Linked DNA regions of Homo sapiens: regions 2 and 3 are each linked to region 1. The links are contacts of gene promoters, found by promoter capture Hi-C in human tissues and cell types (Jung and others, 2019). All regions are on one chromosome and are shown on one strand. The core of a region is centred on a gene start or on the middle of the fragment in contact, and the rest is flanking DNA. Distances in the headings are between cores, read along the strand shown.

Region 1 (3,959 bases), core at 1,077-3,576:
ATACACTCACACAACACTCTATTGTCAATCTCTTTTCAAGAAAGTTGCAAAAGTAGTAAAACAACTTCAGAAAACAGTGTAGCAGCTTTAAAGGTAGCATAAGCTTACCATATAGTTTAGGAATCTTACCTATTGGGATATCCCCAAGAGAACAAAAGCATATGTTCTAGAAATACTTACACTTGCATGCTCAGCAGTTTTATTTATAAAACCCAAACACCAGAATTTGTTTTTAAAACACACACACACAAACTAAAATTTCCGTGAACAGAAGAATGAATAATCAATTATGGTATATCTTAACATAAAATACCATTCAACAACATAAAAGAATAAACTATGAATACAAGTAAAAATATCATAGATAAATCTGAAAATCCCTGAGCCAAGTGGAAGAAGCCAGACACAAAAGTTGACATACAGTATGATTCCATTTATATGAAATGAAGAAGCTGCAAAACTAGAGTAAAAGAATGCAGATCACTGGTTATTGAGCCTGCGGTCTGAGGGGGAAGGTTCTGACTGAAAGAGTACAGGAAAACGTTATCAGGCAATGGTAATTTTCTCTATCATGACTGTGTTGGTGGTTTCATGACAGTACAGCTGACCCTTAAATAACACAGGTTTGAAATGCACAGGTCCAATTATATGTGAATGTTTTTCAATAAATATACTGGAAAAAATTTTTGAATATTTGAGACAATTTCAAAAAACCAGAATTCATTGAAATAGGTATGCCAAGAATGCATAACACAAAATATATGTAGGTTCTATTTTATCATTACAAAACCAGAGCGATATTTTCTTTTCTTTTTTTTTGTTTTTGAGACGGATTCTCTCCCTGTCGCCCAGGCTGGAGTGCAGTGGCATGAACTCCACTCACTGCAAGCTCCACCTCCCGGGTTCATGCCATTCTCCCGTCTCAGCCTCCCGAGTAGCTGGGACTACAGGCACCTGCTACCACACCCGGCTAATTTTTTGTATTTTTTAGTACAGACGGGGTTTCACCGTGTTAGCCAGGATAGTCTCGATCTCCTGACCTTGTGATCCACCCGCCTTGGCCTCCCAAAGTGCTGGGATTACAGGCGTAAGCCACCACCTCCCTACTCTTTCTACCCAATAAATATGAAGGTCTGTGGAAGCTCAGGGCCCTTCCTCACTAGAAGCAAGAAGCCCCCTGACCCCTTCTTTAAAACAGATTTATTTTGCCTTTGTTTTCATTTCTGCATTCGTTCCCCTTCGTTCAGTCCCATAGTAACTGTGACAGGAATATGGAGCAGAAATGGATGAAGGGGAGAAATTGAGGGGGAGTTGGCTTATGGGTTTGCTGCCTGTTGTTGTGCCTTTACACCAATGTTGGGTCCTTGAGGAAGGAAAGAACACAAATGAGAATGGGGTGAAAGAGGAACGTAAATCCTTGGGCTCCCCTACTCTCTCATCACCTACATCCAGAATTCAGAGCCTTTTCTTATTATCATACATCAGGCATTAATATTGGGTGTCCCCTTGCCAAAGGAAATTTAGGAAGGTATACGTGGCTTTGCCCAGTGAAACCTCTTTATGGTGGCCCTGAAGATCCTCTTCAAGTCCTTCAAAAGAAGGAAAGATTGGAGTATCAGCTGCAGGAAACTGAAATCCAGGCCCATCTCCAATTACAACAGGTTCCAGATGAGTCCGAGAGTTCTCGACACTCATTTCTCCTCCATCTCCTACTCCATCATCTCCATCTCCATCTTCTCCATCATCTCCATCTTCATCATCATCTCCATCTCCATCATCTCCATGTCCATCATCATCTCTATCTCCATCATCTCCATCTCCATCATCTCCATCTCCATCATCATCTCTATCTCCATCATCATCTCTATCTCCATCATCTCCATCTCCATCATCTCCATCATCTCCATCTCCATCTCCTACTCCATCATCTCCATCTCCATCTTCTCCATCATCTCCATCTTCTCCATCATCTCCATCTTCTCCATCATCTCCATCTTCATCATCTCCATTTCCATCATCTCCATCTCCATCATCATCTCTATCTCCATCATCTCCATCTCCATCATCTCCATCATCTCCATCTCCATCTCCATCTCCATCATCTACCGTCTCCAATCTCCATCTCCGAAGTTATGCCCACTTCCTCGAAGTTTGGAGCCACGCGAACTACACTGCCCAGAAGGCGCCGCGCCGTGAGCCGCGATGCTTGGCCAATGAAAAGAGGTCTACCCGAGAGTGCGACGCGCAATGGGCGGGACTTCCGGCGTCTCCCCTCGGCGGTTGCTTTCGCTGCCCTCAAGAGAACTCAGCTTGCCGGAAGCTGGTTGTTCGCTGCGGCGACCAGCTCCGGAAAGCGCGGTGGGGACGCGCTGTGTTCTCGCAGCTCAGAGGCGGGTCTGAGGCTCGGTGGCGGCGCCCAGGGTGGCCCGGGCCCTTTCCTCGGTCGTTGTCTCACCGCCACAGGCTCCGATGGCGGCGGCCACGCTGAGGGACCCCGCTCAGGTGAGCGCCGCGTCCTCCCGGCCTCCCCCGAATCCTAAAGCCCTGTGAGGGCCGCCTGCTCAGGTCCCCGGGTGCAGAACTGTGGGGCGTTCGTGGGCGGCGTCCCGTTTCTGACACGCAGTGTGATGGGGTGGCAATGGAGGGCAAGGGGCCCGGCTCGCAAAGATGTGAGGCGCATTCAGCGAGTCCCGAACCTGAGGCCTCCTGGTGTCTGTAGTGGGCAGCTTGGGAAGGGACGAGGCGCGTGTCGAGCGACAGCCCGAGCAGCTGCGCTTTCATCCTGAGGGGGCCACAGTGGCCGCGGAGGGCTGGAGACAGAAGAGTGACAAGATCTGTTTCTCAAAGTTTGCCAAAGGCCCTTCAAGTCAAAACAGACTGGGGTGGGGGTGAGGCGGGTGAAGACAGACCTGTGAGTAGGTAAATTCAGTAGACTAGTGGAGAGTCTACTGGGACTGGGCCACAGAGGAGGGGAAGTGATCAGATCTTGGATGGATTTCAAAAACTGAACAGACGGGAATTCCTGTTGCATCAGATGTGACTGTGAAAGAAAGTAGGGAATGAAGAGCCATTCTGGATTTTTATTTGTATTTTTGTTTGTTCCTGAATATCAGGAAGGATGGAGATGGGTAAGGCTGTGCAGGGAATAGGTTTTGGGCATGGTGATCCTGAGATGTCCCAGAGTGGAGGTGTCATGTCCACATGAGCAGCTGGAAGGCCTGGGGCTCGTATTTAGGAGGGAGAATCTTAAAGTTTTCTTTCAGATGGTCCCTGAGGTGAGGGAAGGGAGAGATGGGCCTGTAGGATGGGGCAGCCTCTACAGCCTGGAGTTTCGTGGTCCGAAGTGATTTTGTCTGGTGCCTGCAGGAATGGAGGGTTATAGAGTATGAACACCCAGGACTGGATGGAGACCGCAGTGTTGGGTAGTATATAGGTTTGCCACTCCAGGCTTAGTAGTTCCTCATGTCCAGTCCATATGGAGAAAAGGAAAGGTCAGCCAGGCTGGTGGAGCAGCACCTTTGGTGCCTAAGTTTCCCTAGCTATCAGCACAGGTGGGATGATCAACTGCTCCAGTAGAAGGGAGGGCTCTCAGCAGGATGGTCTTCAGGGGAGTATATAGCAGGCAGCCAGATTGCCAAAAGGAAACCCACATTGTCTTTCTTTTTCTTTCTTTTTTTTTTTTTTTTGAGACAGAATTCTGCTCTTGTGATCTGCCCACCTCGGCCTCCCAAAGTGTTGGGATTACAGGCTTGAGCCACTGCACCCAGGCAGAAACCCACATTTTGAAAACCTACCAGTTTATTTGCACTGAAAATGTTGACAGAAGCATTAATTATGTGTACAGTAAGAGTTGATATTTAGTCCTAGACACATAAGAATGAGTTTGATACAAACAATAGTCCTATTGAGTGAATACCATTATTGCCATGTTGCAGATGGCAATACCAAGGCACAGGGAA
Region 2 (3,959 bases), core at 712-3,211, 990 kb before region 1:
TTGTCCCAGTCTGAGTGAGTGTGGGTGTGTAGTAGGCTACACAATCTAGGTTTGTGTAAGTACACTCTATGATGTTTGCACAACAAGGTTCTTAGGAAATTGCCTAAGAACCCATTTCTCAGAATGTATCTCCATCCTTTAGCGATGTAGACTGTATTTCCATACTGTAAATAGTCCCCTTGTGGTGGATTTCAATCTACCAATATGACATCACTGAATGTGGAGTTAGAAAGAAAGGTACAGTTCATGGCTCTCAGTTCCTACAGCTCTTTTAATTTCCTAAATGACTGCAGCAATAAAGTATCTTTTGTTAAAATATCTGGCCTTTTGTTCCTGGTTCCTGAAAAAGCTCCAGAACAGCTCCAGAGCCATAAAGGTGAAAGACAGTATTTCAACCACACATGAGTTTATGTTAATGAGGTGATTTTTGGAAACTCTCAAGATAATCCCAATATTTGGGGGGAGTGGTGGCTAGTTGCCAGAGGAACCAGCCATGTGCTCAGAGGACTGGAACTCACAGCTCCACCCTCTACTTCTGGGAAAAGAGAGAGCCTGAAAATTAAGTTGATCGCCAGTGGCCAATGATTTAATCAATCACATCTACATAATGAAACCTTGAAAACCGAAAAGGCCTGAGTTCAAGCGGCTTCCAAGAAGGTAGACAAAAACACATCCTCGTGCTGGGAGGGTGGTGCACCCCAACTCCACGGGCACAGAAGTTCCTGCACTAGGGATTCTCTCGGACCTTGCCCTACATGTCTCTTCATCTGGCTATTTGTATCCTTTAAAATATCTTTTATAATAAACCAGTAAACATAAGTGTTTCCTTGAGTTCTGTGAGCTGCTCTAGCAAACTAATGGAACCCAAGGAGCCGGCTGTGGGAGCCCCAATTTATAGCACATCTCTCTGAAACACAGGTACAACAATCTGGAGTTTGGAATTGGCATGGGAAGTGGGGGACAGTCTTTTGGGACTGAGCTGTCTAACCTGTAGGATCTGATGTTTTCCAGGTAGCGTCAGAATTGAATTGGAGTAGCGGTCACCTGGCTGGTGTCTGCTGCAGACAGGTTTTTTTGACATGTTAAGACATTATAAGAGACAATAGAAAAAATGTATACGATACAACCTTCTCTGAGTTATATTTCTCCATAGCCCTTTTTACTGTTCATCAGACTGTTTATCTAACTCATGAATTTGTGGCTTGTCTCTCTCCGCTTCAAAGTAAATTACATAATAAGAGGACAGGGATTTTTTTTTCTCTGCTGTATCCCCCTGAATTGCTTTTCCTTATTTGTCTCACCTTCCAATACTAATTCTACAGTTCTCCTAGTCAGGGCTAGTCCCCTAAAACGGGGACCATTTCCATTTTGTTAAGGGGCTGAACGCGGTTCAAGCCTAGCAGATTGGTTCCAAAAACGTCGTGTTATTCACTGCCTCTGATCAGTGACATTCCCATTTGCAGCTGAAAGAGGTATTAATTCGCCAGAGTCACAACACGGTCGGGGTTCCTCGTCGCTGTCTTATTCCAAAATAAGCTTAACACAGAAAGATAATGACACTCCCACGGACTGGCACAGAAGGCCGCGCTCCGAATGACATCGCGATCACAGAGGCACAGACAGCGTCACAAAGCCCCACGCGTACTCACACCGAAGGCTCAGCCGTCGCGCGTTTCCCTCCCAGGCCCCAGGAACTAGTAACTAGGGACGCTTCTGGTCTCTAGGCGAGGAGAGGGGGAGAGCGCAATCTTTGCGCCTGCGCACACTCCTGCTCTTACCCGCCGGAACCCTGGGCCACGCCCGGCTCGCGTAATCACGCACTGCGCAGGCACCGCCCGCTCTGCTCTAAGGTCCCTCTCACTCCTTCAGCAGCCCGAGGACAATCCCCTCAACACTAGGCCACGCCTTGTCTCCGCCCCTCTCGTCCGACCCCTGGAGAGAGGCTGGCGCCTGCGCGATGGGGGGTTCCAGCGTCGACTCACGGAGTCCTTCGGATGAGAGCGTCTGGGTGCCAGACGAGGCCGGGGGTTTGTTTTGGGTGGTTTGGGAGTCCGAGCTCGAGGGCTGGGCCAGGAAGGGCAGGCGAGGCGGGCGGCTCCGACGCGGGTCGCGAAGGCCCAGCCGCGTCCTCTGTCCCCAGGACGACTACATTTCCCAGAGGCCAGCGGGGCGCGCGTACTCGAGTCTGCGGGGCGGAGGCCGCGGCTCGGGGCTGCTGGGCGTTCGGGGCGGCTTGGGGCGGCGGGACCACTGGAGTGAGCTGTGGGAGAGATGGGGGTGTGCCTGTGTGTAAAAGATCTGTCAGAGTGTGAGGCTCCGTGAGAGGGTGTGGTTTCTGTGTGTGTGTGTGTGTGTGTGTGACAGACCGAGAGTCCAGTGTGAGACCAGGGTATGTTCGTGTGTGACAGAGCGAGACGGGCCAGTGTGAGAGACCAGTGAGTGTGAGAGAGATAGGGATGTGCCTGCATTTGAAAGAGAGCGTGTGAAGCTCAGTGAGAGGTTGCGAGGTGTGTGGGTGTGTAAGTGTGTAACAGACCAGGTGTCCAGAGCGTGAGACCAGGATGTATTCGTGTGAGAGAGTGAGACGGGCTGGATGGAGTGTGAGAGACCAGTGAGTGTGAGAGATGGGCGTGTGCCTGTGTGTGAAAGGCCGGTCGGTCGGTGGGTGAGGCTCAATGAGAGGCCGGTGTGTGTTCGAGAGAGAGAAGAATCACCATGTATGCGAGACTAGACTGTGCAAGAACAGAGTGTGAGACTGTGGTATGTTAATGTGTGAAAGGGAGACCAGTGAGTGTGAGAAATGGGTGTTTTGGGTGAAAGACCCGTCAGTGTGTGAGGCCGTGTTATGTGTGTCTGACAGACTGAGAGAGACCAGAGTGTGAGACCAGGGTGTGTTCGTGTGTGAGAGACAACATAGCGTGAGACCAGTGAGTGTGAGAGAGATGAGCACGTGGCTGTGTGTGAAAGACCAGTCATTATGTGAGGCTCCTTGAGAGGCTGGTGTGTGTGTATGAGAGAGAGAAAGAGACTAAACTGTGAGAGTCCAAAGAGTGAGACTAGGTTATGTTGTTATGAGTTTGTGAGAGAGAGGGAGGCGATCAAAGTATAGGACAAAGTTATGTTTCCTGGCTTACGACTTCTAAGATCCTTGGAATCTCCAAAGTATTAAGTGTCTTTTTGCATGCTAATGATTGGTGGGCTGGCAGCCTGTAGGTTGATCACGGTAAGGGATGGTCACAAGAACAATCTAGGCAGGATTAGAGGGTTGGGATTACCTGCCCCATCCCTCAATCTCCAGGGAAAGGAAAGGGAGCCACAGGTTAAACTGATCATCAGTGGTCAGTGATTTAACCAGTCATGCCTACATTATGAAGCTTCCATAAAAACCCAAAAGGACTGGGTTCATCAAACTTCCAGATAGCTGAACACTGGAGGTTCCTGTAGGATGAGCCCCTTCCTATATAACCTTGTCCTATGCATTTCTTCACCTGCATCCTTTGTAATATCCTTTATTACTACAAACGTGTTTCCCTAAGTTCTGTGAGCTGCCCTAGCAAATTAATTGAACGCAAGGAGGGGGTCATAGGAACCCCGATTTATAGCTAGTCAGAAGCACAAGTAAAACAACCTGGGGTTTGCAACTGGCATTGGAAGTGGGGAGCAATTTTGTAGGGCTGAGCCCTCAACCTGTGGGATCTTATGCTGTCTCCAGGTAGATAGTGTCAGAATTGGGTTGCCCTAGAGGTCACCCACCTGGTATTCACTGGGTTGCCCTAGAGGTCACCCACCTGGTATTCACTGAAGAACTTATTGCTTGCCTGGTGTGTGTGTGTGTGTGTGTGTGTGTGTGTGTGTGTGTGTAGATCCCCACACATCTGGTCTTAGAACTGTTTTGTGTTGTGTGAGTGGAGTAGGAGAAACAGTTTGTTTTTCCTCTTTGTCACCTGAGTGTGTTATCA
Region 3 (3,959 bases), core at 468-2,967, 880 kb after region 1:
CCCAGGGGTGGCTCCTCTGCTGCAACAAGAACCTGCCTCCCAGCACCAGACACAGCAGGTGGGAGCTGTGGACCATGGCCGAGTCTCTTCGTCTCCTTGATCTGCTCCCAGGATGCACTGTCCAACTATCCCACCTGTAGGTGGGTGGCATTCCAGCCATGGACCCATGATCTGAGGCTGAGCACAGCAAACACAATCGAGGCTCTGGGTCCCAGGTCCCAGGAGCCCGTCCTTGATGGTGCATTACAGCTCTCCCAGGCTGTTCTTACAGTGACCTCCCACCTGCCCCAGGTGAGCATGCTTGCACCTGGGTGCTCGCCCAGCCTTTCTAGTTGTCCTTAGGGCTTCTGGTGTTGGGAACAGGATGCAGAGTTACCAATTTAGGGGGACTGAGAGGTTAACGTGGCCAAGGCTGAGCCCTGCAGAACTGCAGAGCAACAGCACACACAGGAAAGCTAGTGAGGTTCAACATCCTCATGGAGGTTGCACACGGCACAATGAGGTCTTATTTGCCCAAGAGAATGTGCAGGGAAGTCGCCAGGCACGGTGGTGCATGCCTGTAATCCCAGCTACTCGGGAGGCTGAGGCTGGAGAATCGCTTGAACCCGGGAGGCGGAGGTTGCAGTGAGCCGAGATCGCGCCACTGCACTCCAGCCTGGGCAACAAGAGCGAAACTCCGTCTCAAAACAACAACAACAACAACAACAACAAAAACAGAATGTGCAGGGAAGTCAACGTTGGTGGCTCTGAGGTGTGGAGGACACAGGCTAGTGCCCAGCTCAGCGTGGCTCCACCTCTCTGAGCCACAGACCAACCTCACCCACACTGACAGTCCCAGGGGACACAGACTCTAGCCCCTATGTCCAATTCTACACTGTGCACGCAATGGGAAGAACAGTGCATCATGCACTGTACAGCAGAAGAAATGTCCTCTGAGTGCAGGCACAGCTCCCTTCTGTGTCTGTCCTCCCGACAGTGCCTCCACCCTCAAGGATTAGCAAGCTTCAACCCTCGCAGGACATCCACTGTGTCAGGGCCAAACGGTGCTGCATCCTGCTCTAATAGTGAGTGAAGGAGGGGACCGCAGACAAGAAGAAATGAACAAGAGACCGTTTAAGAGAGAAAAAGACGTGAAGAACATCAGACAGGGAGCAGCGCGAGGGCGCCAGGGAGGGAGGCAGCGGATTCTTCGGGCCTCTGTGAAGAGGGGGCATGAAACCGGTCTGCAGACAAGGAAAGAGCAAAGTGCAAAGGCCAGGATGCGGGGGCAGAGACGGTAGGGAGGCCGGCGTCGGCCTCGGCTAGCAGGTGGGCTTGACTCCGAGAGCCGCAGGCCGCCAGGATGGGTCCCGGGCCTGGAGCCTCCCCTCGCGGGCTTCAATGACACCCAGCACGGAAACGCGGGGGCCAGAACTACAGAAGCCCGTCCCGCCCGGAACTCAAGGTCGCGAGTGCTGTGTGGCCGGTCCGGACCCGGAGCGCGAGGACCGGAAGTGCGCGGCGTCACGCCTCTGCCCCGGACCCCGCGCGCGGAGGTGGAGAGGGGACTGGGGTGGTGGCCGCGCTATGCGCCGGGAGGTCCCCGCCTCGCAGGCCGAGGTTGCGGGTCCGCGCAGAATGCCACTTACTCTCTGGAGGCGGCCCGCACGGGTCCCTGGTCCCCGCCCCGCATGCAGCGCGGAGCCGTCCTCCCGCCACCTCCGGGCCGCCGCGGCACTGAGGGACCCGGGCCACAGCAAGCGCAGGCGGGAACCCGCGCGGGGACTGCTGGGAAACGTAGTCCCGTCATGTCCCGCTTTGACGCTGCGGAGAAAGCGGTGTAGGGAGAGGCTTGGGCTTCGGTTATCATAGAAACAGAGGCCGGCTACACCTAAAAGGCGGGGCGTGGACCTAAGTCGTCGCCAAAGAAACGGCGTTCTGGACGGGGACGTAGGGTCCCGCCCATTCCTTCTCGTGAAAGCGGGTGACTGGTCATGATTATGATTGATAGCCTCCTCTCCCAATCTGATTTCTAAGAGGTCCCAACCCGGAACCGACTTGCGGTTCGCAGGCTCCCCTCGGGTGGGAGAGTTGGGCTGGGAAGCACCTGGGGAGCTCTGAAGTGTCTTGGTGAGCGCGTTGCGAGTCAGACCGATAACATCAGAATCTGGGACTGGGCCCGAGCATATGCGCGTCAAAACTCCTCAGTTAAGTCTATTTTTTTGTATTTTTTTTGGTTTGCTTTTTTGAGACGGGGTCTCGCTCTGTCGCCCAGGCTAATGCAGTGACACCATCACGGTTCACTGCAGCCTCGACCTCCTGAGCTCAAGCGATCCTCCTACTTCAGCCTCCAGAGTAGCTGTTAACAGGGGCGCGCGCCACCACGCCCGGCTAATTTTCTTTCTTCTCTCCCTCCCCCTCCTTCTCCCCCTCCCTTCCTCCTCCCACTATGTCGCCCAGGCTGGTCTCGAACTCCTGTACTGAAGCGACCCTCCCACCTCACCCTCCCGAATAGCTGGGACTATAGGTGGGAGCCACCATGCCTGGATAGTTTTTTTATTTTTATTTATTTATTTATTTTAGAGATAGGGTCTCCATATGTTGCCCAGACTGGTCTGGAACTCCTGGGCTCAAGCGATCCTCGTGTCTCAGCCTTCCAGAGTGCTGGGAGTACAGGCTTGAGCCACTGCGCCAGGCCCCTAGTCCGGCTCCTAGTTGATTCTAACACGTGCGGCCCCATTGGGGAACCACAGCCTCCCCAGCCCCTTTGGGTGTTGCTGACTCTACGGGCCCTCCCAGGTAGGATGAACTGGTCACGCCTCCTACCCATTTGTAACCCCCAGCTCTTGCCCCCATCTATTGTGTGGCTCCTGCCCTCAATAGGGACATCTAATTTTGTTGGCCAGTCCAGCACATATATTGCATGTAACGACCCAGTTTGCCCCACCTTTCTGCCTCCACTGCATCTGCTTCAGGGATGCTGGGACTGTTCCACTCCCTTTCTCCATCCTTTGGGTGTCTGCACATCGAAAGCCTTGTCAGGAGGTCTATCTCCCTGCCCAAGTACAAAACTCAGGGCTTACCAAGCTAATTGAGGGCGAGCAGGAGGCTGAAGGGCACTTGGAGGGCTGCCCGCCTTGTGGGTCCCTTGGTGGCTGAAGAGAGTTGCACAGGAAGGCCTTGACAATTGTCACAGAGAAAGGAGTGCAGCTGCTGGCTCTGTGTGGGTGTGCAGATGTCTGACAGGTTCAGCCACTGGCCCCAATTGGGACACAAGTGGGATTTCTTTTTTTTTTTCTTTTTTGAGACAGTCTTGCTCTGTTGCCCAGGCTGGAGTGCAGTGGCCGCGATCTCAGCTCACTGCAACTTCCGCCTCCCAGGTTCAAGCAGTTCTCTGCCTCAGCCTCCCGAGTAGCTGGGATTATAGGTGCCCACGACCTCGCCCGGCTAATTTTTGTATTTTTAGTAGAGATGGGGTTTCACCATCTTGGCCAGGCTGGTCTTGAATTCCTGACCTCATGATCCACCCGCCTCGGCCTCACAAAGTGCTGGGATTCAGGCATGAGCCACTGCACCCGGCCTGACACAAGTAGGATTTCTCACACCTGTGGATGCACTGCTACTGGAGGAGTCTTGAGCCTATGTGGAAGAACTTCCCACTCCCAGGCACAGAAAGGGCCTCCCTCTGGAGTGAAGATTCTGGTGGTACCACAGGCCTGGCCACCACACAAAGGCCTTGTCCCTGCAGGGCTGGCATGGGGTGACTGGCAGCCCTGGAGTGGAGTTTGAAGCACCAATGAAAGGCCTAACCACTTGGCAGGCACAGGTGCGGGGGACTTGTCTGGAGGGGACCGGCTATGGGGGCTGTGACAGTCTGTAGGCTTTCTTCACTTCTACACAAGCCTGTTGTCTAAGTGGACCCTGCAGGGTTCATGCAGGGGCAGCACCAGAGAAGCATCTTGTGACAATGGTTACACAGG

The links. Contacts are between HindIII fragments. The study calls those that stand out against the background at their distance.
Region 2: a contact is called between the fragment with the promoter of ZNF471 here and the fragment with the promoter of ZNF773 in region 1, in 1 of the 25 tissues and cell types used here (adrenal gland).
Region 3: the fragment with the promoter of ZNF837 here is called in contact with the fragment with the promoter of ZNF773 in region 1 in 1 of the 25 tissues and cell types used here (spleen).

What each region holds. Positions count from the first base shown.
Region 1 is chr19:57,497,612-57,501,570 of GRCh38, forward strand. It overlaps ZNF773 (zinc finger protein 773), which reads left to right and starts at 2,327. Exons shown (of 4, transcript NM_198542.3): 1 at 2,327-2,502. The coding sequence starts at 2,470. The HindIII fragment of the contact is 9,164 bases long and covers 1-3,959 here.
Region 2 is chr19:56,505,894-56,509,852 of GRCh38, forward strand. ZNF471 (zinc finger protein 471) reads left to right here and starts at 1,962. Exons shown (of 5, transcript NM_020813.4): 1 at 1,962-2,027. The HindIII fragment of the contact is 4,462 bases long and covers 470-3,959 here.
Region 3 is chr19:58,379,313-58,383,271 of GRCh38, forward strand. It overlaps ZNF837 (zinc finger protein 837), which reads right to left and starts at 1,718. Exons shown (of 3, transcript NM_138466.2): 1 at 1,629-1,718. RefSeq lists enhancers at 442-983, 800-1,029, 984-1,525, 1,060-1,119 and a silencer at 1,470-1,979. The HindIII fragment of the contact is 47,170 bases long and covers 1-3,959 here.